Linked DNA regions of Homo sapiens: region 1 is linked to region 2. Evidence: promoter capture Hi-C in 16 types of primary human blood cells and fetal thymus (Javierre and others, 2016). All regions are on one chromosome and are shown on one strand. Each heading gives the region's core, a stretch centred on a gene start or on the middle of the fragment in contact. The rest is flanking DNA. Distances are from core to core; before and after follow the strand shown.

Region 1 (6,585 bases), core at 1,417-3,916, 210 kb before region 2:
AGAATACTAAAGGACCCAAGGAAACTGAAGGGCCTTCACTCTACTGTCCTAGTCAACAGATGTGGCCCTTGAGCAAGTTCCTCGAGTCTTTATATGTAGAGAGAGATTTATTTTCTGAAGATCATTTCATAACATGTGATTAGGAGCAGAGCTCTTCATGCAAAAAAGTACTAGGAATTAGGTGACTTAGAAAATATGGAAAGTCCCACTTGTCCCACATGTGTCACTCCTGGATGGATTGCTCCAACCTGCCCTTCCATTTCAGAGTGAGTATTAGATTTCTCCTTTAAGCTAAACAATGGCACATGGTTCTTGGTTGGGGAAGGATGCCACTGGGGCCCTCTGCCCCACTTTTGTTGGTCCCAGACTGGAAGGCTTTAAGTGACTGTTGCCCAGGAAGTTGCAATGGAGGGAGTGAGGCTAATGGTACTGTTTGGGTTGGTCAGAATATGTATTTAAAATGCTAACAGGAAGATGAACAAGAATGTCTGATGAGAAATGTGAACCAGCCAATATTGCATGGGATGGAATTTATACTTACCCCAAGAAGTTTTCTTGTGTAAAAGAACTTAGGTGGAATATCATAAACCCGGTAATACCAGACAAAGAGGAAGACGTTCAACCCCAGCCAAACCAGCTGCACAAACAGAAATAATTGCATGAAGTTTCCGCATTTCCACAGTAGATTCCACACAAGACTGGAGTCAGATAAGGGTCAGGACTTCCCCAAGTCCAACTTTGACAAAGGTAGTGACAAAGCTGGATATAACCAGCTTAGAGCCAGCTCTTTCCTCAACAGTGTCACTACACTTGTCTATAATTAAAACCTCTCCACCCTGTGTTGTTCCCCATGATTGTTTTATGATTTGGCCAGTATACCAAATTATCAGTCTTACATTACCCCACTCCCTTTTTTTCCCCTCTCTTTTGCTTAACCTTGGATAGGTAGCTGATAGCAGGCCACTCCACTTAAAATGAGAAAGGAAGGGAACATATTACTATTGCTTTCCCTCCACCAGTATGACACTGCGTTCTGTTCTCACAGGTGCTAATCACCTCCCTCTACCACACAGTAATCCAGCTAGTGAATTCTCATCAGCTAAAATGCCAAGCCTTCCATTTTCCTTGATTAGTTTTACTTAATGCTTCAAGGAGAGAATATTGAGCATAGTGAGGGGCTTGGGATTTACAACAAAAACAGCTTTCTAGATCATGACAGTTCATTTTATCCTAAGCACTGACTGGATCAAGTGGTCACACTACCCAGTTCTCTACCTTCAGCTCCATAGTGATCTTTTCTCAACTATGCTTTGAAGCTATTATATGCTCTAGACACTTGATAATATTCTCTCTTTACAAAGAAAAAAGTGCTAAAGCAACTTCCCAATTTCCTGATCTTGTCATTCTTTCTTTACTCTGACTTTCCAAGCTGTGTTTTCACTTTCAAGTGCATGAGTATATAATTTAGAAGGAGGTCATTTCCTGGGAAAAATTGTGGCGAGAGCTAAAAGTTTAATTTGAACTTACTTTCTATAGAAATTATTTGCCCTTAAAAATGGTGATAAGAAGTTAAGTTTACAGCTTCGAATACTCGGAAGAATTCTCTGTTGCAGTAGAATGTTGGTTTGGCGTAAACATTTTTTATAACAAAATATTTGTTGTTTTTATTTGTGCCACTAATTGCTTTCTATATTTAAAACTCAAAGACTCATTATTTTTCATGATAAATTTTTACAAAAGCTCCATTCATATTCCATTCATAATTGTACTTTTTAACATCTGTGTAATGCTTCTATTGGTTATTTAGAAAGGCTATTTAAAAATCGTATTTCTATCTACCCAATTTGTCCATTATTGCTTTGCTGATAACACCATTTTAAGAGAACAGTTGATTTTCTTTGTTTTAAAAAGTACAGAAATCATTCTGTCCACTTGTAAATTAGCTATATCTTTACTTACATAGTTTCTCCAGACTATATTGATTTATATATATATACAATTATATATAAATATACATACTACATATTTATGAATCTAGATGACTTATTTCAATTCTGTTCTTTTGAATTTTTATAAATCTTATAAATAACTCAAGTTTAGATCTCTGAAAAAAGAAGGTACTTGTTTTTGAAAATAAATTTGAGAAGTTTTATTATATTTAGTGTAATTACTGAAATAAAGGCCTACTTCCCATACATGAGTCAATCTTATATTTTTTATTTAGAAAATGGTATAAAATTTCAATTTGTCATTTTTAAAGTAGTATAAACACATAGACATGTGCGTCTGAGTAAACATTACTAAACAACTCAGAATCAGAGATCATTAGCATGAAATATTTTCTACTCCTTCTGCGAAATGCTGGCTAATTTATTCCTCCTAGGAATTCAGAAGTAAGCTAGAAGTGAGCCCCCAGATATGTTCTTTCCATTAAGGAATTTGGAAGAATGGACTCAGTCTGTTTACAGATAGATATAGGTTCACATGGTAAATCAGTTTCAACACAATTCCTCAAATGAACAAAAAAGCTTTGGTCTATTTTAGTTCCAAGATAACCCCGAGAAGTCAGAGAATTTATAACTTATCTCTTGTTGGTACTTACAATGACAAAAATGGAGAGCCCCTCATTCACAGCCCAGTTCCCCATGGTGGCAGAGGTTGAATGTGTTGTGTTTGCCTTTCTTCTATACTATGCTTCTTCTTCCAATGAGGAAATGAAAACAGCAGCCCTGGGGCAATCGGTTTCCTTTTCTTTTATCAGAAATTGGCTAATAATCATTGGTCAACTGAAAAGCTTGCATCCATAACAAACTTAAATCTTTAAACCTCAACAACTACAAAAAAAGGGTCTATAATGATCCAGTCACAATTAAACATAGTGGAAAATGAAACCAATTTCTACAACTAAGAGATAAATAACAGTGCATTTTAAGGGATGTATTTTACACAGTGAAATAACTTTTTAACTAACCAGCTATTTGATCACAATTTTTAAGCCACTCAACTAGACATGACTTCGTGCTGGGTAAAACACATTAAACAGGTGTGATTTTGACAGGCTGGAACAGCATTCATAGCCTTGCTGAGAAAAGTAGTAACAATTGTAATGGTTGATATTTACAAAATGCTTAATATGTGCCAATTTTATGTGCTATATATGTCTATATATGTGTGTGTGTATGTTCATGTATAGCTATCATATATATATATATATATATATATATATATATATATATAATTTGAAACATACATATATAAATACAGATGCTTTGGCCAATGATGAACCACATGTATGACAGTGGTCCCATAAGATTATAATGGTGTTGGCCAGGCACGGTGGCTCACGCCTGTAATCCCAGCACTTTGAGAGGCTGAGTGGGGTGGATCACTTGAGGTCAGGAGTTTGGGACCAATCTGGCCAACATGGTGAAACCCCGTCTCTACTAAAAATACAAAAATTAGCTGGGCATGGTGGTGGGCACCTGTAGTCCCAGCTACTCAGGAGGCTGAGGCAGGAGAATCACTTGAACCTGGGAGTCAGGTTGCAGTGAGCCGAGATTGTGTCATTGCACCCCAGCCTGGGCGACAGAGCAAGACTCCATCTCTCTCTCTCTCTCTCTCTCTCTCTCTCTCTATATATATATATATATATATACATATATATATAATATATAATATAATATATAATATATATACTTGTGTGTGTGTGCTGAAAAATTCCTACCATCTAGTGACATTGTAGCATAACACATTACTCATGTGTTTGTGGCAATGCTGGTGTAAACAAACCTACTGAGCTGCCAGTTGTAAAAGTATAGCACATACAATTATGTACATTACATAGTACTTGATAGTAAAAATAGATGACTATGTTACTGGTTCATTTATTTACTAGACTATACTTTTAATCATTATTTTAGAGTATACTCCTACTTATAAAAAAGTTAACTGTAAAAGAATCTCAGGCAGGTCCTTCAGAAGGTATTCCAGAAGAATGCATTGCTGTCATAGATGACAGCTTCATGCATGTTAGTGCCCTTGAAGACTGTCCAGTGGGGCAAAATGTGGAGGTGGAAGACAGTGATATTAATGATCCTGACTTTGTGTGGGCCTAGGCTAATGTGTATGTTTGTGTCTTAGCTTTTAACAAAAATGTTTTAAAGGTAAAATATAAAAATAAAAAATTTAAAAACAGAATAAAGCTTCTAGATATGGATATTAAAACATTTTTGTACAGCTGTAAAATTTTTTTTGTTTTAAGCTTAGGGTTATTACAAAAGAGTCAAGAAATTAAAAAAGCAAAAGTTTATAAATAAAAAGTTACAGTAAGCTAAATTTATTTCATTATTGAAAAAACAAAATGTTTTGCATATTTAGTATAGCCTAAGTGTACAGTGTTCATAAAATCTATAGGAGTGTACAAAAATGTTCTAGGCCTTCCTATCCATTCACCACTCACTCACTGACACATAGAGTAACTTCTAGTTCTCCAAGCTCTACTCATGGTAAGTGCCTTATACAGGTGTACCATTTTTAATCTTTTATACTTTATTTTTATTGTCTATTTTCTATGGTTAACTATGGTTAGATACCATTGTGTTAGAATCTCTGACAGTATTCAGTACAATAAAAAACGATAAGGTTTGTAGCCTAGCAGCCATAGGCTATACCATGTAGCCTAGGCGTGTAGTAGACTATACCATCAGGTTTATGTAAATACACTCTATGATTTTCACACAACAACAAAATCACCTAAGGATACATTTCTCAGAACAAATCCCCCATAGTTAAGTGATATGACTGCATATATGTGTGTATTACACATATAGACACACATGCAAACACACACACATCAATTCATTTGATCCTCACAACTCAACCACTGTAAAGCAGATTCTATTATTATGATTATATTTACAGATAAGGAAACTGAGTTCCAGAGCAGTTCAGTTACTTGGCCAAGTTCACATAACTAGCAAATAGTAGAGTTGGGATTTAAAACCCAAGAAATTTGGTTATACTTTTGACCAAGATACTAGAAAAAAGCCTTACTATGCCTACACTAAAAACCCTACATTAAATCACTCCACATACAACTATAGGAAAACATGACAAAATACAAGAAATATACCAAAATGTTTAGATGGCAATCATGTTTCCAGGCAAACATGACATCCTATATGCTAAGTGAGTAAACAGGGTCAGCACAAAGATATGTCAGATATGGTAGATGCCAAAAGCTAAATGTAGCATCATTTCCCTTGTTGGTACCCACTCTTCAAGACATGAAAGAGACAGGAAGGTAGGATAGTAACCCCATTATGAGATCAATATTGACTAATTGCACAAGGGTAGTTGTACAGCAGTTATAGCTAATATGGAGGTAAAAAAAAAAGAAATGGGAGGAGTGAAAGGGAACAAAAGAAGGAAAAAAAAGACATAAGTACTCTTTTGATTGTTGTCCATGAACTACTTGGGAAGCTTCTGTAATTACGATAATTAGCAAAGTAGTAGTGTTTTTCACTTCTTAATATTCAAGGAAAGGTACTTTTTAGAATGCTATGGCTCTTAGACCATGTGTAAACCACATAAAGAGAAGTTAGTCTCGTGGTTCTGTTCCACACAGAGATGAATTCAAAGAAACACACTTAGACAATTAAAACATGTGCCAATTATTTGCCTCTTGCTCTCAGGTCTATTCCCCACTTTCCTTGCTCTACTGTGTTTCAGAGAAAATTGTATTGCCAGGCTCCTTGGCCCTCTGGCTTCTAGTATGTTTAGCTGAATTGGAGAATGGATAGCAGGAGATAAGCCATAGTGTTTCTTCCCTGAGCTTTCTGCTTTAAGTGGCATCCATGAAGGGGCTGCATCTGCACTGAGGCTCCAACTTTCACCAGTCAGCCTCTCCCCCTGTGGCATGAGCTAGTCCTAGCCATCACCACTGTAGCTCAAGATTCTGCCAGGTGGCCCTGGCTTCTGAACTCAAGTTACACCACCACCTCCTAGTTTCCCTCTAACCCCTAGGGTGGTAACCACTTCCTGTAGTTGTTCATCTTTATATTATGTTGCCTCTGCACCCCATGTTGGGATTCTCTACTTTTCCATAATCCATGTAACAAATTTCCTGGTATGAAATTCCCCCTGTTGAAATACAGTGGTTTCTGTTTTTTGACTGAAACAAAAAAGTTACTCATATCTGTACTTATTTTTTTCATGTATTCAAAGAAGTGAGGCCTTTATACCCAAAGAAAAATAAAACATATTTAAAAATCCACTTTCTCTCCTCATCTCTGCCACTCTCAAACTCCTCTACAAAGATGACTGCTTCACCATAAGCTCTTGGAACTCATCAGTCTTTTCCTCTGTACTTATCCCCACTGTTCTCTTTCTCTGCCTATTGGATCATCTTCCTTTATCCCACTTAAATTTTCAAGCCTTTCTCATACTTTTCCACCTGCCTCCTGAAGCCTGTGCTCTGCTGGGGAGGCAATGACAAAGGGATCATTAATCTGCATATACCAGGAAATAACATTCCCAGTTTCACATAAACTTATTTCTTGAACATTTTCCCACTCCCTTTCCTTC
Region 2 (6,263 bases), core at 2,070-4,569:
CACTCCAGCCTGGGTGACAGAGTGAGACTCTGTCTCAAAAAAAAATTATATATATATATATATACATACACACACACACACACACACACACCTATACAAGGTCAGAGATCTAGCTATAAATATCTAGAGGGAGTGTTCCAAGTAGAAAGAACTGTAAGAACAAACAGCCTGAGACAGGAAAGTAACTAAAACAGGAAGATGGCCAGTGTGGTTGAAGAAGAATGAGCAAGGAGTAGAGTAGGAGTGTAGGAGGCTAGATCATGTGGGGCCTTCTCGGCTATTTTTAAGAATCATAACTTTGTGAGATGACAAGCCACTGGAGAAAAAGTAATAGGGAGCCACTGCAGTATGTTGAGCAGGGAAATAACATGATGAAAAATGTCTTTTGAAATATTTGTTTCTTAGAGGTAGATGGAACGGCTTGAGTGGGAGATTCTAGCTCAAAGTATATTGCACTAATCCCAATATATGGTGATTCATTCATTCAACTATTTATTAGGTGGCAAAGATGTGCCCAGTAATGTGGGGAGGATCTAAATTAGAGCGATAACTGAGGGAATTGCCAGAGGAATGTGAATATAAATGACATCGGAGGGGAAGAAACCCAGGACATACTGAGAGATTATTTATAGAGAAATGACACAAATTCGCAATTCAATCTAATCAAGGTCTATGGATCACCTACTGAGGACAAAGTCCTGTGCTGGCTAGGATTTGCGGGGAGGGGATGGGGTATAAAACTTCTACTTTCCCCTCAAAGGGCTTCCAGCCTGGCATGCTTAGCCCCTGCCCTACACCTTTCAAGCCAGAAAGTCTTGAATTGACACAGCTGCAGCTGGCACTGGAACTAACTGGTTTGCTCAGGCTCAGGTTAAGACCTGTTTTTGTTGGTGGTGGTGGTGGGTTTTTTTTTTTTTTTTTTTTTGCTATCCTTGAAGCTTGTTCCATCTCCTGGGAGCAGGGGCCAAAGCACCTCAACTCGATTAGTAAAAAAAAAAAAAGACCTGGTTTGGCAGGAGGGCAGAAGAGAGGTCTTAATAGATGTCTTGTGTGGATCAGTGTTGCAGAATGGCCTGAACCACCAGTTTTTGGGCAGAGTCCTTCTGGTCTGCTTCCACCTGTGTGATCTAGTGGTCACACACTCTTCCCATTCCATTCTGGAAAAAAGGCCTCAAGGCATGGAAAGGGGAAGAGGCAAGATTAAGGAAAACAATTGGAAAAAAAAATTTGAAAATTGCCTGCTGCCAGACTACAAGGTGAGGGGAGCAGATGCAAATGCAATGCAAATGATATGTAAATATCTCTGTGGCCTTCTAAAAGGTTTTCTACAACTGGAAGGGCATTTGAAAAACTGCTGGCAGTTAACAGTGACTCAGAAGCAGAGCAAACTATTTCAAGACAACTTTGTGACATAAACCTTTGCTGCCCAGCTAACACAGTGCACATTCTTTAGTAATCTTTTTTCTCACTTGAATCAACCTCACCTGCTATTAAAAAAAAACCCTGTCTGCCTCTGTAGAGGTGATCTAAGTTAATTACTCTTTTAAAACACTCTATATACCTTTAATTTTTCTTCAAACGCCTTTCTCACCTAAATAAAGCCAAGTTAAATGTGTCACTTCCTCCCTAGAACAGTAGTTGGCTCCAGGGGATTATGAATGAAAGTGCCTCTCTCTCCGTTCTAGTCACTATGATCCTTCAGAGTTTTGTTCTTTTTCCTACTCCACAGGAACTGGCATATTCTCTTCTAATAACCACATGCTGATTTCAAAGTGAGTCCAGGAAAAAATATGTATGTGAAAACCAATTCACTTTTAGGAGCCACTGTAAAGTTATTCATCAAGAAAAGCTGCCCTGTCAAGAAAGCTGTGGTCTTGCCCATCCTAAGCAAATATTTTTAAGTGAAATAATGCACATTCAACCACAATGGGGTACATTTCCGGGTACGTTTCCGTCTACATTTATGTATTTTTAAAGGGGACACTCCTATCAGATATGCATTTAATAAGAGCCATGGGTTGAACTGAATAGTAAGCAAAACAGTAAACACATCAGACCCACAGCTGAGCAGTTATTCTTGGTTACAGACCCAGGGCTCCAGAAGCAACTTACCTCCACATCGGCCCCGAAAAGTTCCATTACTTTCTAGCACTCTAACATTCGAGGATGCCTCAGCTTTTGACAGCAGAGTCAAAGGAAAGGAAATCCCTTCCATTTCTGAGGTTTTCATCTTACTTGAAAGGGCCACACTGTCATCCCCCAGAAAGCTAACAGGCATCTGGAGTGATGCCACGTAAAAACACGAACAAAGCGCAGAGACGCCGAATCTCAACAAATGAGAGACTGAAAACGACAGGAAAGAAGAGGGACAAAAGCAGGAGATAGACCTCAAGGGACTGAAGAAATGCTAGCACCACACCAAGAGTAACAAAGACTTGGAGAGCAACTCGGGACAGTGCTGCCCGAGCCACGGAGTCCGGGGAAAGGAGGCCGGGCAGGCGGCGAGCGCCCTCCCGCGGCCCGGGCTACCTCTTACCTCCTGGGCGAGTTTCTGCTTGAGCACCAGCGCGGCACACAGGTAACCCGCGCGGCCCACGAACAGCTCGTCGGAGCCGCACTCCAGGAAGGAGACCGGCGCGCAGACGGCACACAGAGCCCGGAACTTGCCCAGCGGCTGCACGTAGTCGGACCGGCCCAGGGCGTGGTATACGAGCGTGGCCACGGCGTACACGCCCGCGCCCCCGAGCAGGAAGGCGGCGCGGGTGTCGGCGTCCGGTTCGCCCCACTCCTCAGCGCGGGCGCACGCGTCGATGAGGCGCTTAGCCGAGCGCAGGTAGCGTTCCCGGGCCGTGGCGAAAAGCGGGCTCTGCGAGACGTGGTAGAGCATATACGCCACTCCGGCCACGCCGCCATAAAGCCCCCCCTGGCAGGCGCTAGCCCCCGCCGTCGCCCCTCGGGCCTCCGCGCCGCCCCCGAGTGGGGGAAGCTCCTGGAGGATGCGCTCGATGGTGGCGGTGACCAAGGGCGCCACCGCCTCCTCACACTGGCCCGCCAGCAGGCTGCCCTGGTAGTCATCGAAGCGATTGGCGAAGCAGCGCTTGGTGTCCATGCTGTTGCCCGTGCCCCCTAGTGCGGAGCTGAGGACCGCTTGAAGTCGTGCCCTGCAGCCCCGCACACCACCTCCGGCTCTCTGAGGCACTCGGATGCCGGTGTATGCGGCGGGGAAGGAGCGAGAAGGATGAGACGGGAGGTGACAAGAGGAGGCGGGCAAGGAGCGGATGGCCAAGTGGGGCGCCGGGCTGCCGCGAGGCTCCCGAGTGGCCCGGGCGATCGCGGGGGATGCGTGTCCTGCGCCCCCCCTCAGAGGCCGCGCCCTCGCTGAACCCGCCCCCTCCTGCGCCGCCGCAGCTTGGCTGCCTCTTCAAGGGGCCGAGGTGATCTCTGGCAGGACCCACGCGGGGCCCGCGCCACTCCTCCCGCTCCGCCCCCGACTCCTCCCCTACTGGCAGAAGGCCGAGGACGTGCGGGACACTGATCTGGAACGCTGGGACTCAGCATACACACACCTGGCGGTAGAGGTGATGGTCTCCAGTCCCTTGTATACTCAAAGTGTGGTCCTTGGGTTAGAAGCATCAGCATCACCCGGGGGCATGTTAAAAACGCAGCATCTCAGGCTTCACTCCAGACCTATTGACTCCAAATCTGAATATTCAGCAAGATTGCCAGGTGATTCGCATGCACATTAAAGTTTGAGGCGCCACTGAACTAGGCTAGAGTAGCAAGACAAAACTGGGCGCCTTCTTTGAAGTTTGTATTTCATCTTGGTCGCTTCGGAGTTCTCATTATGAATGTTTCAATCCCAAAGGCTGGGGCATTTGAGCACATCATGTTTAATGCATTAAAACGGTGAAATACCCCATACAGGAACTTTTTTCCCAGCTTTGATTTTTGTATTGTTTTCTTCGAGTATACAGGAGTAAAAAGTCAAAGAACCACACCAGGTTAAGGCAAGGAAGGGGCACGCCCCTCCTGCCATGCGTGCATAGTAAAAGCTCAATACATATCTTGAGGTCATTAACTAGTTAATATTAGGATAAACGCTCTGTGAGAATTTAATTAGGCTTTTTATCTCCCCCTTCCCTCCCTTCTTTTCCCATGTTTGTCCTCTTCTGCTTTTTTCCCAAGGGCGTTGTGGAGGGTCTCCTATGTGTCCTGAAACCTGGAAATAGAGGGATGAATAAGATAGACATGGTCCTAGACCCCTTGTAGCTTACAATTCAGTAGGAAAAAACAGAAAATGAACAATTACACAAGCTAGTTGCCTTTCTTGTGCTCAGCTGTTTGAAATAATTCTGCCTTTCCCAAAGTGTTGACTCTTGAAGACTAAAGAGGTCACGTCTCCCAGGAGTATTTGACTTTTGATAGGGACTGTGCAAGACATAAAGGAGTAAGTGGCTCATAGAACAGTTTCTGATACTTTGTGGGGAGAGTAACTACTCCACTTACTTGAAAGGCCAGTTTGGAGGCATTTTTTTTTCCTCAGAAGTGTTAAATGTCACCATGATTGGGAAGCAGATATTAAATACCCTGCCCCTCCACCCTTACTTGATGTAGTCTGGGAAAGAACCTTAGTTTGCCAACATGATTGCCAGGACTGACACATCCACATAGTTCAAGGACAGTATGGCCATCGTCCCCCTTTGATGCTGCCAAAACAGGTTTATTTTTAATAATAATAATAATGATAAAAGTCCACTTTTAGGCAGGGAGCTTGATATGTTAAAGGAGGAAAAGGCATCAAAGAAGCAACAGGAATGTTGAGTTTCTCCTTGAGACTTCCTTCCTCATCCCTCAACCATAACAGACATTAGAGGTGATTTTTGTCCCCTCAGACAAGGAAACATAAAATAAAGCCTTTACCAGCAGAAATGAAGCCTTATTCCACTTCATTCCTCCACACCTCACTCACCCTTGTCATGAATCTAGAGGCAACTCTATTAATTCTGACTCTGATTATTCTTCGAAACACTCCAGCCTAGAGGTAGCGCCAGCAACAACAACAGGGATCTGCTAACTGGCTTCAAAATAGAACTGTGTGTAAACACGTCTCCAAGAAAACGAGCTCTTCCACTTTTTCCCAGTTGTGTCATCTGTCTATTGCCCCAAAATGCTGTATGAAAAGCAATCACAAAATCTAATAGCATATGGCAGTAAATTTAATGTTTATGCATCTAGGATCTTGGCTGGGCTCATTCAGGTGTCTGGAGGTGGGTTGGGTCTTGCTTGGGGAGACTGAGGTGACTGGCCTCTGGCCCATATGTCTCTTCTCTTTTAGCTGGCCAACCCCAGCATGCTTGCACGGCAATGGCAGAGGGGCTAAAGCAAAAGCAGAGACATGCAAGACTTCTGAGGGTCTAGTCTCAGGAGCACACACTCTTTTCTGCCTTAGTCTATTGGCAAATCACATGAGGAAATATAAGGTGTTTTTGTTGAACTTCAAATTTGCATGACAAAGGGTATGGATACAGGGTAGGGTGAAGCGTTAGGGTTCTTTGAAACCCCACCTCTAATTGTCCTATACTTAATTTGCATGCAGTGTTATTTATTTTAATATCACTACTCCACTAGAATATACTCTCCATGAGGGTAGGGCTTTTTCTTGCATTTATTTACTGATATGCAAGATCCTAGAATAGTCTCTATTCTACCACTACTACTGCTACTGCTATTGCTACTACTACCACTACTCCCTGTAGTAGATATTTACTGAAAGTTTATGAAATAATGAATGAATTACCATGAGAGTGCCATGAGAGACTTAAGGTACCCTAAAGTATAGAACACAGAGTGAGGCCTTTTTTGAAACCTTAGCCTGACATGTCTAAACTCCTCCTATATTCTTGGACCCTTTTCCTCTTGTGAGCACAAGAATGTAAACATTCTGCAGTTTTTGCTCTTGTCTGTTTCTCTACAAGATATGGTGACCTCTATACTTTACCTTGAATTCGGGGTCTTCACACATTCTACTTTTGCTAATTAACCCTGTGTGGCAGCTTATATTTTTCAAATATGGCCACAACAATATCTCCTATGCCACATGTTCCTCTGCAATCAATGTGACCTTGACATTCCTCTCATCAGGAGGGAGGTACATGCAACCTCTTCTGAATTCTGGGTGGGCTTATATCTCATTTGTAACCAATAGAATGTGATGGAAATAACACCGTATGGCATCCAAGGCTTAATTATAAAAAGTAATGCAG

The links. Contacts are between HindIII fragments. The CHiCAGO score rates a contact against its expected background, and 5 or more counts as called.
Region 1: the fragment with the promoter of CYBB here is called in contact with the fragment with the promoter of LANCL3 in region 2 in 6 of 17 cell types (megakaryocytes, erythroblasts, fetal thymus and 3 more); the score reaches 10.6 in megakaryocytes.

The regions. Positions count from the first base shown.
Region 1 is chrX:37,776,140-37,782,724 of GRCh38, reverse strand. CYBB (cytochrome b-245 beta chain) reads right to left here and starts at 2,666. Exons shown (of 13, transcript NM_000397.4): 1 at 2,603-2,666; 2 at 542-637. The coding sequence starts at 2,647. RefSeq lists an enhancer at 2,575-2,624. The HindIII fragment of the contact is 266 bases long and covers 2,531-2,796 here.
Region 2 is chrX:37,568,717-37,574,979 of GRCh38, reverse strand. LANCL3 (LanC like family member 3) reads right to left here and starts at 3,319. Exons shown (of 5, transcript NM_001170331.2): 1 at 2,537-3,319. The coding sequence starts at 3,109. The HindIII fragment of the contact is 8,836 bases long and covers 941-6,263 here.